Regions from separate parts of the Homo sapiens genome. Here regions 1, 3, 4 and 5 are each linked to region 2. The links are contacts of gene promoters, found by promoter capture Hi-C in blood cells and fetal thymus (Javierre and others, 2016). All regions are on one chromosome and are shown on one strand. Each heading gives the region's core, a stretch centred on a gene start or on the middle of the fragment in contact. The rest is flanking DNA. Distances are from core to core; before and after follow the strand shown.

The links. Contacts are between HindIII fragments. The CHiCAGO score rates a contact against its expected background, and 5 or more counts as called.
Region 1: a contact is called between a fragment that was not itself captured here and the fragment with the promoter of OR1E2 in region 2, in 2 of 17 cell types (M0 macrophages and M2 macrophages). The highest score is 5.8, in M0 macrophages.
Region 3: a fragment that was not itself captured here is called in contact with the fragment with the promoter of OR1E2 in region 2 in 1 of 17 cell types (M2 macrophages); the score reaches 6.8 in M2 macrophages.
Region 4: a contact is called between a fragment that was not itself captured here and the fragment with the promoter of OR1E2 in region 2, in 2 of 17 cell types (M2 macrophages and M1 macrophages). The highest score is 7.6, in M2 macrophages.
Region 5: a contact is called between a fragment that was not itself captured here and the fragment with the promoter of OR1E2 in region 2, in 2 of 17 cell types (M0 macrophages and M2 macrophages). The highest score is 5.9, in M0 macrophages.

The regions. Positions count from the first base shown.
Region 1 is chr17:3,024,927-3,027,626 of GRCh38, reverse strand. RAP1GAP2 (RAP1 GTPase activating protein 2) reads right to left here. Exons shown (of 25, transcript NM_015085.5): 20 at 1,506-1,619; 21 at 1,163-1,277; 22 at 557-683. Among named protein-coding and RNA genes, the nearest start is that of OR1D5, 37 kb to the left of the region's middle. The HindIII fragment of the contact is 6,980 bases long and covers 1-2,700 here.
Region 2 is chr17:3,432,590-3,435,289 of GRCh38, reverse strand. OR1E2 (olfactory receptor family 1 subfamily E member 2) reads left to right here and starts at 1,449. Exons shown (of 1, transcript NM_003554.2): 1 at 1,449-2,420. The coding sequence starts at 1,449. The coding sequence ends at 2,420. The HindIII fragment of the contact is 9,794 bases long and covers 1-2,700 here.
Region 3 is chr17:3,171,378-3,174,077 of GRCh38, reverse strand. The region is part of intron 1 of LOC100288728 (a long non-coding RNA gene); the gene reads left to right. Among named protein-coding and RNA genes, the nearest start is that of OR1A2, 25 kb to the left of the region's middle. The HindIII fragment of the contact is 1,101 bases long and covers 896-1,996 here.
Region 4 is chr17:3,077,943-3,080,642 of GRCh38, reverse strand. No RefSeq gene overlaps it. Among named protein-coding and RNA genes, the nearest start is that of OR1D5, 16 kb to the right of the region's middle. The HindIII fragment of the contact is 4,058 bases long and covers 1-2,700 here.
Region 5 is chr17:3,153,044-3,155,743 of GRCh38, reverse strand. The region is part of intron 3 of LOC100288728 (a long non-coding RNA gene); the gene reads left to right. It also overlaps the pseudogene OR1P1. Among named protein-coding and RNA genes, the nearest start is that of OR1G1, 27 kb to the right of the region's middle. The HindIII fragment of the contact is 5,658 bases long and covers 1-2,700 here.

The DNA of each region.
Region 1 (2,700 bases), core at 166-2,665, 410 kb after region 2:
GCCCGGGGCTGACCCAGCCTGTCAACGCTCCGGCCTCTCTGACGCCTGGCTCTGTGAACCCAGCTGCCATGAACACGTGCAGTTCCGGAATACCCGCTCTCTCCTCTCCTCTGGGCCTTTCCACATGCTGTTCCCTCCCCCTGCAGCCCTTCCCCCGTCTTGTATTATCAAGACCCCCGACATGACAGACGGGCCCTGGCAGCCCTGGAGCGCTGGCAGGTGGGGAGAAGGGTTGGAGCACTGGCAGGTGGGGAGAAGGGCTAATGGAAAGTGCTCAGCTTTCCCACTGCCAATCCCGACTCCTCCGCTGTGGGATCTCCCACAAGGCCTTCAACTCTCTGCCTCAGCTTCACAACTCTCAGTGTAAGAAGAGCTTAGGAACTTGGGCATCTTAAGGCTGATGAACAGAAGAGGCGGGCGCACAGAGCGGAGGGCCTCACAGCTGGGAGGAGGGGTGAAAACTGGCCAGTTCAGCGTGGCTGGGGCCCTGCTAACAGTGGACAGGGCACAGCCTGCCCTCCTGGTGACGTCACACACACCACCAGATGCCACTGACCTGTGGGACTCCGGCTCATGATGATCGGGGTGGCAGCTGCCCCCAGGCTGGGGCTCTCGCTGCTCGGGGACGGGCTGTAGACAAACACCTCCTGCTTGAAGGGTGAGGTCGTGGACGGCTGGCTGCCCTGAGGAGAGAGGCAGGGTGAGCGAGGCCAGCCCACCCTCGGCAGCTGCGCCCACGCAGGCCTGAGGCAGCCCCCAAAAGCCCAGGACAGCCGCTGCCTCCTGCTCCCCACTTGGGCCTGCTCTTTCTTTCCTGCTGACTTCAACCCTGGTTCCAAGCTATCCTGCTCCAAGAAGGACCTTTGACCCAGCCCCCTGGGGCACTGGCCACTCACCACTCCAGCCAGGAACCCCAAGGCAGGGCACCATCGGGTCTGGCCCCTGCCCTCTGCTGCTGCTATGTCACTCTGAGAGAGAGGTCCCCTCACCCACTGCGCCCAGGGGGTGGTGATGGCCAACGAGCCCACCTCTCGTTTCCATTCTTCCCCTTTCCTCTGCAAAGACTGACATGGGCTTCGATCCACAGTGCCGTTTTAATGCAAGGAGGGTGGCTGGCTGACGCCCCAGAGTGCCTGCCCAAGGGTGGACGGGGCACACCTACCCCACTGTCGCCCTCCTCCATGGCCTCGCCCTCCCCTGCAGTGCTGCTGACGCTGCTGGTGCTGGAGGAGGAGCGGGAGATGGCACGGCCGTTTTCCTTCAACTTCATGAAGGGCCTGCAGGGAATAGGAAGTGAGGCCAGCCCGGGTCACACGCGAGAGCCCTCCACCCCCAGGGTCCTCCCCGGGACCTCTGGCGGCTCCCCACGCCCCCACCCGTCGGCCTTTGTGTTCTGGAGAGTTCCAGAGGCAGGAGATGGCCACTCTCAGCTGGCCAGGAGGCAGAGGGCGTGTTCCAGGGCTCCACGTGGCCGAAGCTGGCCTTTCCCACCCTCACTCTCTTACTTCTCCTTGTTGGGGCAGATTTCCGGAGAGCTGGGATTGGATGAGGTCTCAGACTTTATCTCCTGAGAGGAGTGTCCACCATCTGGGGTCTTGGGTGTGCTGGATGTGCTGTCACTGAGGGAATGGAAATGAGGAGTGAGGCCGCGGAGACAGCCCTCAACCCCCACCCCATCCACGGCCCCAGGCAGAGCCTCTCTCGGCACGGTGAGGGGCAGTGGGGTCAGAGCGCCCCCGCCTGGCATCACTGCCTGGATGTCCTTTCCCACCTGAGCCCCCCAGAGATGGCGGCATACTACAGGGTTTCCCGGTCCCTACAACAGGGACTATTCTAGGTTCATGGTGAAGTCCAGAGCTGCCAAGCAGGAGTCCTGGCTTGACGGCCTCTAGCCCAGATCTCTCTCACCCAAGCTGGCCATCACACCTGGCGGAGTTGTGGGTCAAGAGAGGGCCCCGTGGGGAATGGAGCAGGGAATATGGCAGAGTCTATGACATCCGCCCCCACCGCAGGAACCACCCAATACACATGGACTCCTGGGAAGTCCCGGGGGGCCATCCTTCATATAGACTAGAATACGAGCTCCTGGTCCCACATGAGGAGGCTGCCCTGGGAGCTGGGAAGCAAGGGGTACTCTCAGCCAACAATATCCTTCTCCTTTAGTGTAACAAAGACCATGGACAGTGCCCACAGTGCTCCCTGTGCTGGCTGTTGGGGATGGGATGGCCGTGTCCTCAATGCACTTTTTTTGAGACTGAGTCTCGCTCTGTTGCCCAGGCTGGAGTGCAGTGGTGCGATCTTGGATTGCTGCAACCTCCGCCTCCCAGGTTCAAGTGATTCTCCTGCCTCAGCCTCCCAAGCAGCTGGGATTACAGGCGTATACCACCATGGCCAGCTAATTTTTGTACTTTTAGTAGAGATGGGGTTTCATTGCATTGGCCAAGCTGGTCTCGAACTCCTGACCTCAAGTCATCTGCCTGTATCGGGCTCCCAGAGTGCTGAGATTACAGGCGTGAGCCACCGCACCTGGCCGTCAATGTACTTTTTAAATAATAGTGTTCTTGAGACAGAATCTACACACCACAGAACTCACCTATTTAAAGTATACAATGCAATGGCTTTTAGTTTATTCAGAGTTGTGCAACTATCACCACCATCTGATTTTAGAATACTTTTGGACCCCTAAAGGAAACACTGGAC
Region 2 (2,700 bases), core at 200-2,699:
GAACGTCTGGAGGCAAGAAATTATGACTTCTAAGTCTAGCATTGCTGGAGAATGCTGGAGAATGCTGATGCAAGAGTCATTGTGGGACCAGATGAGGCTGTGGAGGTAGGCATGGGTCAGATAATGAAATATGATTTGTGTCCTTGAAAGGAATTTTGTGTATATGTTAAGAATAATGAGAATCCATAAGGACTCTGAGCAGGAGAATGATGATCAGATTTTTATCTTAGAATGCCACAGTGTGTGGCCGGGCACGGTGGCTCAGGCCTGTAATCCCAGCACTTTGGGAGGCTGAGGCGGGCAGATCACGACGTCAGGAGATCAAGAACATCCTGGCTAACACGGTGAAACCCCGTCTCTACTAAAAATACAAAAAATTAGCCGGGCGCGATGGCGGGTGCCTGTAGTCCCAGCTACTCGGGAGGCTGAGGCAGGAGAATGGCGTGAACCCAGCAGGAGGAGCTTGCAGTGAGCTGAGATTGCGCCACTGCACTCCAGCCTGGGTGACAGAGCGAGACTCCATCTCAAAAAAAAAAAAAAAAAAAAAAAAAGAACGCCACAGTGTGAATGGATTGAAGGCTAGTGAGCATAGCAGCAGGGAGATGAAGTAAGAGACTATTCCAATAGTCCAGACAAGAAAAGATGTCAGCCTGTTCCAGATTGTGGCAACTGGGATAAGCAGTGGGTGAATTAGAAATAGAATGAAGTACAGAATCTATATAACTTGCTAGGATTAGATGTTGATCTTGAGAGAAATAAATAAATGAAAGAAAACTCCCAGGTTTCTGACTTGAGCCTGGATTCCTTTTACTGAGATATGAGAGACTGGAGGAGCAAATTGGAAGAGTGGCAGGGTGAGATAACGAGTTTCATCTGGGATCTGTTAAGCTGAGGATGGTCATGATCCATAGGGAGATAATCAGGAAGCAACTGCTAATGCAGTACTAATGATGATAGGTTTACCCAGGAAGTTCAGATGGTAATCAGTGTCACGGGGACAGGTGAACTCTTTCAGGGCTTGATCTGTAGAATTAGAACAGAATTTAGGAAAAATTCCCAGAAAACAGCAACGTATAAGATACTGTTAGAGAAGAAACCATTTACAGTTGTTAAGAAGGAATGGCCAATATGTGTCAGGAAACCAGTGTGATTGCACGGAAGCTAATAGATAAGAGTGTTTTAGAAAGAAAGGAGGAGTCAATCTTGCTACATGTTATGCAAAGTGAGATGGATCAGTGTGAAAAGTAGCGTGGATTTTGTGATGTGGCACATTTCTGATTATAGAAATAATTATAGAAATCTCTGAATATAGAGATTGTTGTTAGGGAAAATGAGGGTGAAATCAGTGATTGAACACCTGTTGACCATGTATCATAGGAATATATTTATTTTTATTCACGGTTTTGAGGGACCCTATTATATTCTCTTAAAGATACTGGAGACAGAGCATGATGGGACAAAATCAAACCAGCATCTCAGACTTCCTGCTCCTGGGCCTGCCCATCCAACCAGAGCAGCAAAACCTGTGCTATGCCCTGTTCTTGGCCATGTATCTTACCACCCTCCTGGGGAACCTCCTCATCATTGTCCTCATTCGACTGGACTCCCATCTCCACACGCCTGTGTATTTGTTTCTCAGCAACTTGTCCTTCTCTGACCTCTGCTTTTCCTCAGTCACAATGCCCAAATTGCTGCAGAACATGCAGAACCAAGACCCATCCATCCCCTATGCAGACTGCCTGACCCAAATGTACTTCTTCTTGTATTTTTCGGATCTAGAGAGCTTCCTCCTTGTGGCCATGGCCTATGACCGCTATGTGGCCATCTGCTTCCCCATGCACTACACCGCCATCTGCTTCCTCCTGCACTACACCGCCATCATGAGCCCCATGCTCTGTCTCTCCGTGGTGGCGCTGTCCTGGGTGCTGACCACCTTCCATGCCATGTTACACACTTTACTCATGGCCAGGTTGTGTTTTTGTGCAGACAATGTGATCCCCCACTTTTTCTGTGATATGTCTGCTCTGCTGAAGCTGGCCTGCTCTGACACTCGAGTTAATGAATGGGTGATATTTATCATGGGAGGGCTCATTCTTGTCATCCCATTCCTACTCATCCTTGGGTCCTATGCAAGAATTGTCTCCTCCATCCTCAAGGTCCCTTCTTCTAAGGGTATCTGCAAGGCCTTCTCTACTTGTGGCTCCCACCTCTCTGTGGTGTCACTGTTCTATGGGACCGTTATTGGTCTCTACTTATGCCCATCAGCTAATAGTTCTACTCTAAAGGACACTGTCATGGCTATGATGTACACTGTGGTGACCCCTATGCTGACCCCCTTCATCTACAGCCTGAGGAACAGAGACATGAAGGGAGCCCTGGAAAGGGTCATTTGTAAAAGGAAAAATCCCTTCCTTCTATGACAGTAATACTTGGGAGTCTTATATAATTTTATCTAATAGATACATGGACATTAATATTTCAATATTATTTCAGATCTCTTTTTTTCTGCACATGAAACTTTTTGTTTAAATGTAATATTACATAATTTCTGAGTAAGTAAAACAGATGTGGGGGGGATATGTAGTTGAAGTAAGGTGTTCTCAGTAACCTGCTAGGAAGATTTTCCTTTTTGCTAATCCCAGGTGAAGAAAATCTTTAAATTAAAGATTTAAAATATTTAAATTAAAATTTCCGTCTTCA
Region 3 (2,700 bases), core at 197-2,696, 260 kb after region 2:
TATATTGATATCTTTCTCTAGGTTTAGGATATTCTCTGCTATTATCCCTTTGAATAAACTTTCTATCATTATCTCTTTACCTCCTCTTTAAGGCCAATCACTCTTAGATTTGCCTTTTTGAGACTATTTTCTAGATCCTGTGGGTATGCTTCATTCTTTTTTATTCTTTTTTTTTTTTTGCCTCCTTTGTGTATTTTCAAATACCCTGTCTTCCAGCTTACTATTTCTTTCTCCTGCTTGATCATTTTTTCTATTAAGAGACTCTGCTGTATTCTTTTGCAGGTCAATTGCATTTTTCAGCTTCAGAATTGCTACTTGATTCTTTTTATCCATTTGAATTTCTTTGTTAAATTTATCTGATAGTATTCTGAGTTCCTTCTCAGTGTTATCTTGAATTTCTTTGAGTTTCCTCAAAACAACTATTTTGAATTCTCTCTCTGAAAGTTCACATATCTCTGTTTCTCCAGGAGTGGTTCCTCTTACCTTATGTAGTTCATTTGGTGAGGCCGTGTTTTCCTGGATTGTCTTGATGCTTGTGGAAGTTTTTCAGTGGCTGAGGATTGAAGGGTTAGATATTTATTGTAGTCTTGCCAGTCTGGACTTGTTTGTACCTGTCCTCTTGGAAATGCTTTCTAGGTATTTGAAGGGACTTGGGTGTTGTGATCTACATTTTTTTTTGTCACTGCAGCCATATCTGCATTAGGGTGCACCTCAAGCTCAGTAATGCTGTGGTTTTTGCCAACTTGTAGAGGTACCTACCTCCTTGGTGGTCTTGGATAAGGTCCAGAAGGATTATCTGGAGTACCAGGCAGAAACTTTTGATCTCTTCCCTTACTTTTTCCAAAACAAATGGAATCTCTCTCTCCCCTTCTCTGTGCTGAGCTTCCTGGAAGCTTCCTGAGCTTCCTGGGGGAGGGGTAACACAAGTACTCCTGTGGCCACCACCACTAGGGCTGTGCTGGGTCAGACCTGAAGACAGCACAGCACTGGGTATCATCCAAGACCCACTGTTACCACTCCTTGGCTACCACTTGTGTTTGCTCAAGGCCCTAGGGCTCTACAGTCAGCAGGTGGTAAAGACAACCAGGCTTGTCTTCTTCACTTTGGACTGCCAAGTCACCCAGGCCCTGGGTGAGTCCAGAGATGCCATCTGGGAGCCAGGGCCTATAGTTGGAAGCCTTAGAAATCTACCTGGTGCTCAATTTACTGCATCTGAAGATGACACCCAAACCACAAGAAAAAGGCCTTCCCACTCTTCCCCCACCTTTCCTCAGACAGAGGAGTCTCTCCCCATGTCCACCACCACCACAGGCCCATAAGAAATACTGACAGGTGTATTAGGCTGTTCTTGCATTTCTATAAACAAATACCTGAGATTGGATAATTTAAAAGAAAAGAGGTTTAATTGGCTCATGGTTCTGCAGCCTATACAGGAAGCATAACACTGGCATCTGCCTCTGGGGAGGCCTCAGATAGCTTTTACTCATGGTGGAAGTTTGAGGCACTTTACATGGTGAGAATGGGAGCAATAGAGAGAGAGGTGGGGAAGGGGCGTGCTTCACACTTAATCATATTTTGCAAGAACTCACTTATTATCACAAGAAAGCACCAAGCTATGGAGAATCTCCACCCATGACCCAAACACCTCCCATCAGGCCCCATCTGCAACACTGGAAATTATAATTCAACATGAGATTTGGGCAAGGACAAATATCCAAACTATATAATACCATTTCTGGTCCCCCACAAATCTCATGTACTTCTCACATTGCAAAACACAATCATGCTTTCTCAACAGTCCCCCAAAGTCTTAACTTGTTCCAAAAGTTCAATTTCTCATCCAAGACAAGGCAAATCCCTTCCACCTGAGTTTATAAAATCAAAAACAAGTTATGGACTTCCAAGATACAATGGGGCTATAGGCATTGGTTAAACATTCTCATTGCAAAAGGGAGAAATTGGCCAAAAGAAAGGAGCTGTAGGTTCCACTCAAGCTTGAAACCCAGCAGGGCAGTCATTAAATCTCAAAGCTCCAAAATAATCTTTGACTCCGTGTCCTACATCCTGGGCACACTGATATGAGGAATGGCCTCCCAAGGCTTTGGGCAGCTCTACCACTGTGGCTTTCCAGGGTTCAGCCCCTGTGGCTTCTCTCATGGCCTGGAGTTGAGTACCTGTGGCTTTTCCAGGTATAGGGTGCAAGCTGCCAGTGGATCTACCATTCTAGGGTCTGCAGGGTGGTGGCCCTTTTTCCACAGCTCCATTAAGCTGTGCCCCAGTGGGCACACTTTGTATGGGTCCTCCAATCCCCCATTTCCTCTCCTTACTGCCCTGTGAGGGCTCTGCCTCTGCAGCAGACTTCTGCCTGGATGTCAGGCTTTCCCATACATCCTCTGGCATCTAGGTGAAGGCTGCCAAGCCTCCTTCACTCTTGCTGTGCCCCTGCAAGCTTAACACCACATGGAAGCCACTAAGACTTATGGCTTACATTCTCCAAAGTGGCAGCATGAGCTGTACCTGGGCTCCTTTGAATCACAGCTGGAGCTGGAGTGGCTGGGATATGGGAACAGTGTCCCAAGGCTACACAGGGCAGCAGAACCCTGAGCCTGGCCCAAGAAACCATTCTTCCCTCCTAGGCCTCTGGATCCATGATGGGAGGGGCTGCCATGAAGGTCTCTGAAATGCTTTCAAGGACTTTTT
Region 4 (2,700 bases), core at 134-2,633, 350 kb after region 2:
GGCTGAGGTGGTCTCAGATGGAGATGAGAAACTTAGTGTGAACTAGAGTAAAGGTCATTCTAGCTATGCTTTAGCAAAGACACTGGAGGCATTTTGCCCCACCCTAAAGATCTGTGGAACTTTGTACTTGAGAGTGATTATTTAGGTTATCTGGTGGACGACACTTCTAAGCAGCAAAGCATTCAAGATGTCACCTGGCTGTTTCTAAAAGCCTATAGTCATATGCATTCACAAAGACATTATCTGAAATTGGAACTTATGTTTAAAAGAGAAGCAGAACATAAAAGTGTGGAAAATTTGCAGCCTGGCCATGCAGTAGGAAAGAAAAACCCATGTTCTGGGGAGAAATTCAAACTGGCTGCAGAAATTGCATAAGTAACAAGGAGCCGAATGTTAATAGTCAAGACAATGGGGAAAATGTCTCCAGGGCATTTCAGAGACCTTCACAGCAGCCCCTTCAATCACAGGCATGGAAGACTAGAAGACTCAATGCAGCCATGGGACATGGCACCCTGCATCCCAGCCACTCCAGCTCCAGCCATGGCTAAAAGGGGCCAAGGTAAAGCTCAGGCCATTGCTTCAGAGGGTACAAGTCCCAAGCATTGGTGGTTTCCACGTGGTGTTGGGCCTGCAGGTATGCAGAAGACAAGAGTTGAGGTTTGGGAATCTCAGCCTAGGTTCCAGAGGATGTATGGAAATGCCTGGATTTCCAGGCAGAAGTCTGTGGCAAAAGCAGAGCCCTCATGGAGAACCTCTACTAGGGCAATGCAGTGGGGCTGGAGCCCCCCATAGGAGAACCGCCTAGTGGAGCTGTGAGAAGAGGGCCACCATCCTCCAGCCCCCAAAATGGTAGATCCACCAACAGCTTGCACTAGGTGCCTGGAAAAGCCACAGGCACTCAATGCCAGCCCATGAAAGAAGTTGCAGGGGCTGTATGTACCCTGCAGAGCCACAGGGGTGGAGCTGCCCAAGGCCTTGGGAGCCCACCTCTTGCATCAGTGTGCCCTGGATGTGAGACATGGAGTCAAAGGAGATTATTTTGGAGATTTAAGATTTAATGGCTGCCCTGCTGGGTTTTGGACTTGCATGAGGGCTGTAGCCCCTTGGTTTTGGTCAATTTCTCCCTCTTGGAATGGGAGCATTTACCCAATTCCTATATCCCCATTGTATCTTCGAAGTATCAAAGTAACTAACCTGTTTTTTATTTTACAGGGTAGTGGGCAGAAGGGACTTGCCTTGTCCCAGATGAGACTTTGGACTGAAAATTTTGAATGCCTGAATGAGTTAAGACTGTTGGGAAGGCATGACTGGTTTTGAAATGTGAGAAAAACATGAATTTTGGGAGGGGCCAGGGTTGGAATAATATGATATGGCTCTGTGTCCCACCCAAATCTTATCTGGAATTGTAATCCCCACATTTCAGCGGAGGGAACTGGTATGAGGTGATTGGATTATGGGGGCAGATTTTCCCCATACTGCTCTCATGATAATGAGTGAGTTCTCATGAGATCCGATGGTTTAACAGTGTGGCACTTCACCCTCCCCTTCTCTCTCTCCTGCTGCCATGTAAGATGTGCCTTGCTTCCCCTTTGCCTTCCACCATGATTGTAAGTTTCCTGAGGCCACCCCAGCCATGCAGAACTGTGAGTCAATCAAAGCTCTTTGCCTTACCTAGTCTTTACCCAGTCTCAGGTAGTTCTTTACAACAGTGTCAAAACAAACAAATACACCAAGTGTCCAGGGTGGCTATACTTACATCAGATAAAATGGACTTTAATTCAAAAGCTGTTACAAGAGACAAAGAAGGTCATTATATAATGACAAAATGGTTGATTCCACAGGAATATATAACAATTATAAATATACATGTACCAAACATCAGAGCACCTAACTATATAAAGCAAACATTGACAGATTTTAAGGGATACATAAAAGCAATAAAATAATAGTAGGAGACTTTGATATCCCACTTTCCATAAAGGATTTATAATCTGAACAGAAAATCAACAAAGAAACACCAGATCTGAACAATGCCATAAACCAATGTATGAGTCAGACATGTACAAAACATTCCACCCAACAGCAGCAGAAAACACATTCTTCTAAAACAGACATGGAACATTTTCCAAGAAAAATCACATGCTAGGTTACAAAATAATTGTTAACAAACTTAAGAAGATTGAAATCATTCTGTGTGCCATTTCTGGCTATTAAAAATGAAAAATGAATTCAATAACAATAGGAAAATTATAGATTATATGAAAATTAAACACTCCTGAACAACTATTGACTCGAAGAAATTAAAAAGGAAATTAAAAAATATTTCAGGGAAAACAATGAAAATAAACACAACATACAAAAACTTAAAAGTTGCAGCAAATGCAGTACTAAGAGGGAAATTGACAGTGAGAAACTTACATTATGAAAGAAGAAATATCTCAAATAAACAACCTAACTTTACACTTAAGGAAGTAAAAAATAAGACATTAAACCCAAAGTTAGCAGAAGGAAGAAAATAATAAAGAATAGAGCAGAAATAAATGAAACATAAAATAATATCAAAAATAGACAAAAGTAGACATCGTTTTTTGGGGAAAAATGTGAAAAAATTAACAAACTCTTAGCTAGAATCATTTTTAAAATAAGAAATACTCAAACAAAATCAGAAGGGGTGAAATTTCTATAATCTATGGCCATGGA
Region 5 (2,700 bases), core at 31-2,530, 280 kb after region 2:
CTCGAACTCCTGCCCTTAAGTGATCTGCCCACCCAGGCCTCCCAAAGTGCTGTATTTCAGGCCTGAGTCAGCTTACCCGGCCTATTGCTGATGTTTCTATCCATATGAAGGCCTCTTCCATCAGAATAGCCCTACCTGCTTCTCCAGTGGTAACCCTGGGTTGAGTTACCTGATTGCTGAGTTTTGGCCTTCAGCTTCTCTTTCAGGACACATTCGGTCCTGTCCTGTTTAAGATTCTGGAGACTAGTAAAGACCCACTATATACAGGTTACTTTTTGAGGTGTCAGTGAAACTCCAAAGAACAAATCAGATTCTCTAAATAGTTGATTGTTGAATTGGTTTCCAGAAGAATAGATAACATGAAATTGCATCTTCAGAGAATATTGAGTTTTGGGCTTGATTAATCAGAACAGGTGCAGTCTTGGGGTCTGAGAGTGGTTTGAAAGCAGGTGAATGGCTGGAAAACTTGTATCCAACTCATATAAGATTTTAATAGAAGCAGTTATGTCTAGCCCATTAGATCGAAAATTCCCTGAGGTTAAGGGTTATCACTGTGCCAGGTCCAGAGTCAGTAATTAATTTCTGTAAAATTAATGAAAGAAAGCATCTTAACTCCTCTGAGAGTACAACTAAAGAAATTTGGGATGGAAAAGAGTGTAGAAAAACAAACGAGAAATGTATTTTAATTACCTTATGTTGTATCTCGCACACTTTCTAGCATAGTGTATTTCAGTAAAAATTTACAGTGCAACATAGTAGATGGCCAATAAAAGTACTTTCTTTCTTTCTTCTTCTTCTTCCTTAAAGCTCAGAGAATAGCATGCTCACCAATCTAAAGTAAAACATTTTTATAGAATTCTAATGGGGCTCACTCAAGATTTTTTTCCTCCGACCTCTGAGCTCCTGGAAGGAGGGAATCAGACTAGCACCTTTGAGTTCCTCCTCTGGGGACTCTCAGACCAGCCACAGCAGCAACACATCTTCTTCCTGCTGTTTCTGTGGATGTACGTGGTCACTGTGGCTGGGAACCTGCTCATTGTCCTGGCCATTGGCACTGACACACACCTCCACACCCCTATGTACTTCTTCCTTGCCAGCTTGTCGTGTGCAGATATCTTTTCCACCTCCACCACTGTGCCCAAGGCCCTGGTGAATATCCAGACCCAGAGCAGGTCCATTTCCTACGCAGGGTGTTTGGCACAGCTCTACTTCTTCTTGACTTTTGGGGACATGGACATCTTTCTCCCGGCTACAATGGCCTATGACCGCTATGTGGCCATTTGCCACCTGCTCCACTATATGATGATCATGAGCCTCCACCGCTGTGCCTTCCTGGTGACAGCCTGCTGGACCCTCACAAGTCTTCTCGCCATGACTCGCACCTTCCTCATATTCCGGCTTTCCTTGTGCTCTTAGATCCTTCCTGGCTTCTTCTGTGATTTGGGACCGCTGATGAAGGTGTCTTGCTCTGACGCCCAGGTCAATGAGCTTGTGCTCCTCTTCCTAGGGGGAGCAGTCATTTTAATCCCTTTTATGCTCATCCTGGTCTCTTATATCCGCATTGTTTCAGCCATCCTCAGGGCCCCCTCTGCCCAGGGAAGGCGCAAGGCCTTCTCTACCTGCGACTCTCACCTCGTTGTTGTTGCTTTGTTCTTTGGGACAGTGATCAGGGCTTATCTGTGCCCCTCATCCTCTTCCTCCAACTCAGTAAAGGAGGATACAGCGGCTGCTGTCATGTACACAGTGGTGACTCCCCTGCTGAACCCCTTTATTTACAGCATGCGGAACAAGGACATGAAGGCGGCGGTGGTTAGACTTCTCAAGGGCAGGGTCTCCTTCTCACAGGGCCAGTGACTTCTGCTGAGAAACCCAAGGTGTTCTCCATCCCCTCCAGTGAGGGGCTTGACAGAAATTTCTACCTCAAGTGTGTAATTTCGGAATCCCACATATCCCTTCTCAGCACTCCCCTCCCTGAATGCGCACTGCAAGTTTGAAGGAAAATCAAGATTTTGCTTCGTGCTTCATCTGTGAAGAGCGCCTTATTTGCTCATTTAACCTATTAATAATTTTTCACAAGGAGGCGTGACTTTTGCAATGCTTTTAATTCTAAAAGCCCGTGTAGCCTGTTATATGCTAGTTTATTAAAACTTAATGAAGTCATGGAAAGTGGGCTAATAACAATATTAGCAATAAAGTCAATATCAGATGGCAAAGAAAGACTTTACAACTTTAAGTGAACAAGTATGTTTTCCTACAAAAAATAGGAAATTATACAAATTGTCTCAAGGTTATGAATCAAAAATATTTGCAGCTATTAAAACAAAGCTCTCTCTTGGGGAGGAGCCAAGATGGCTGAATAGGAACAGCTCCGGTCTACAGCTCCCAGCATGAGCAACGCGGAAGAGGGTGATTTCTGCATTTCCCTCTGAGGTACCAGGTTCATCGCACTAGGGAGTGCCAGACAGTAGGCGCAGGTCAGTGGGTGCGCATACCGTGCGCGAGCTGAAGCAGGGCAAGGCATTGCCTCACTTGGGAAGCGCAAGGGATCAGGGAGTTCCCTTTCTGAGTCAAAGAAAGGGGTGACGGATGGCACCTGGAAAATCGGGTCACTCCCACCCGAATACTGCGCTTTTCCGAGGGGCTTAAAAACGGTGCACCACGAGATTATATCCTGCACCTGTCCTGGAGGGTCCTACGCCC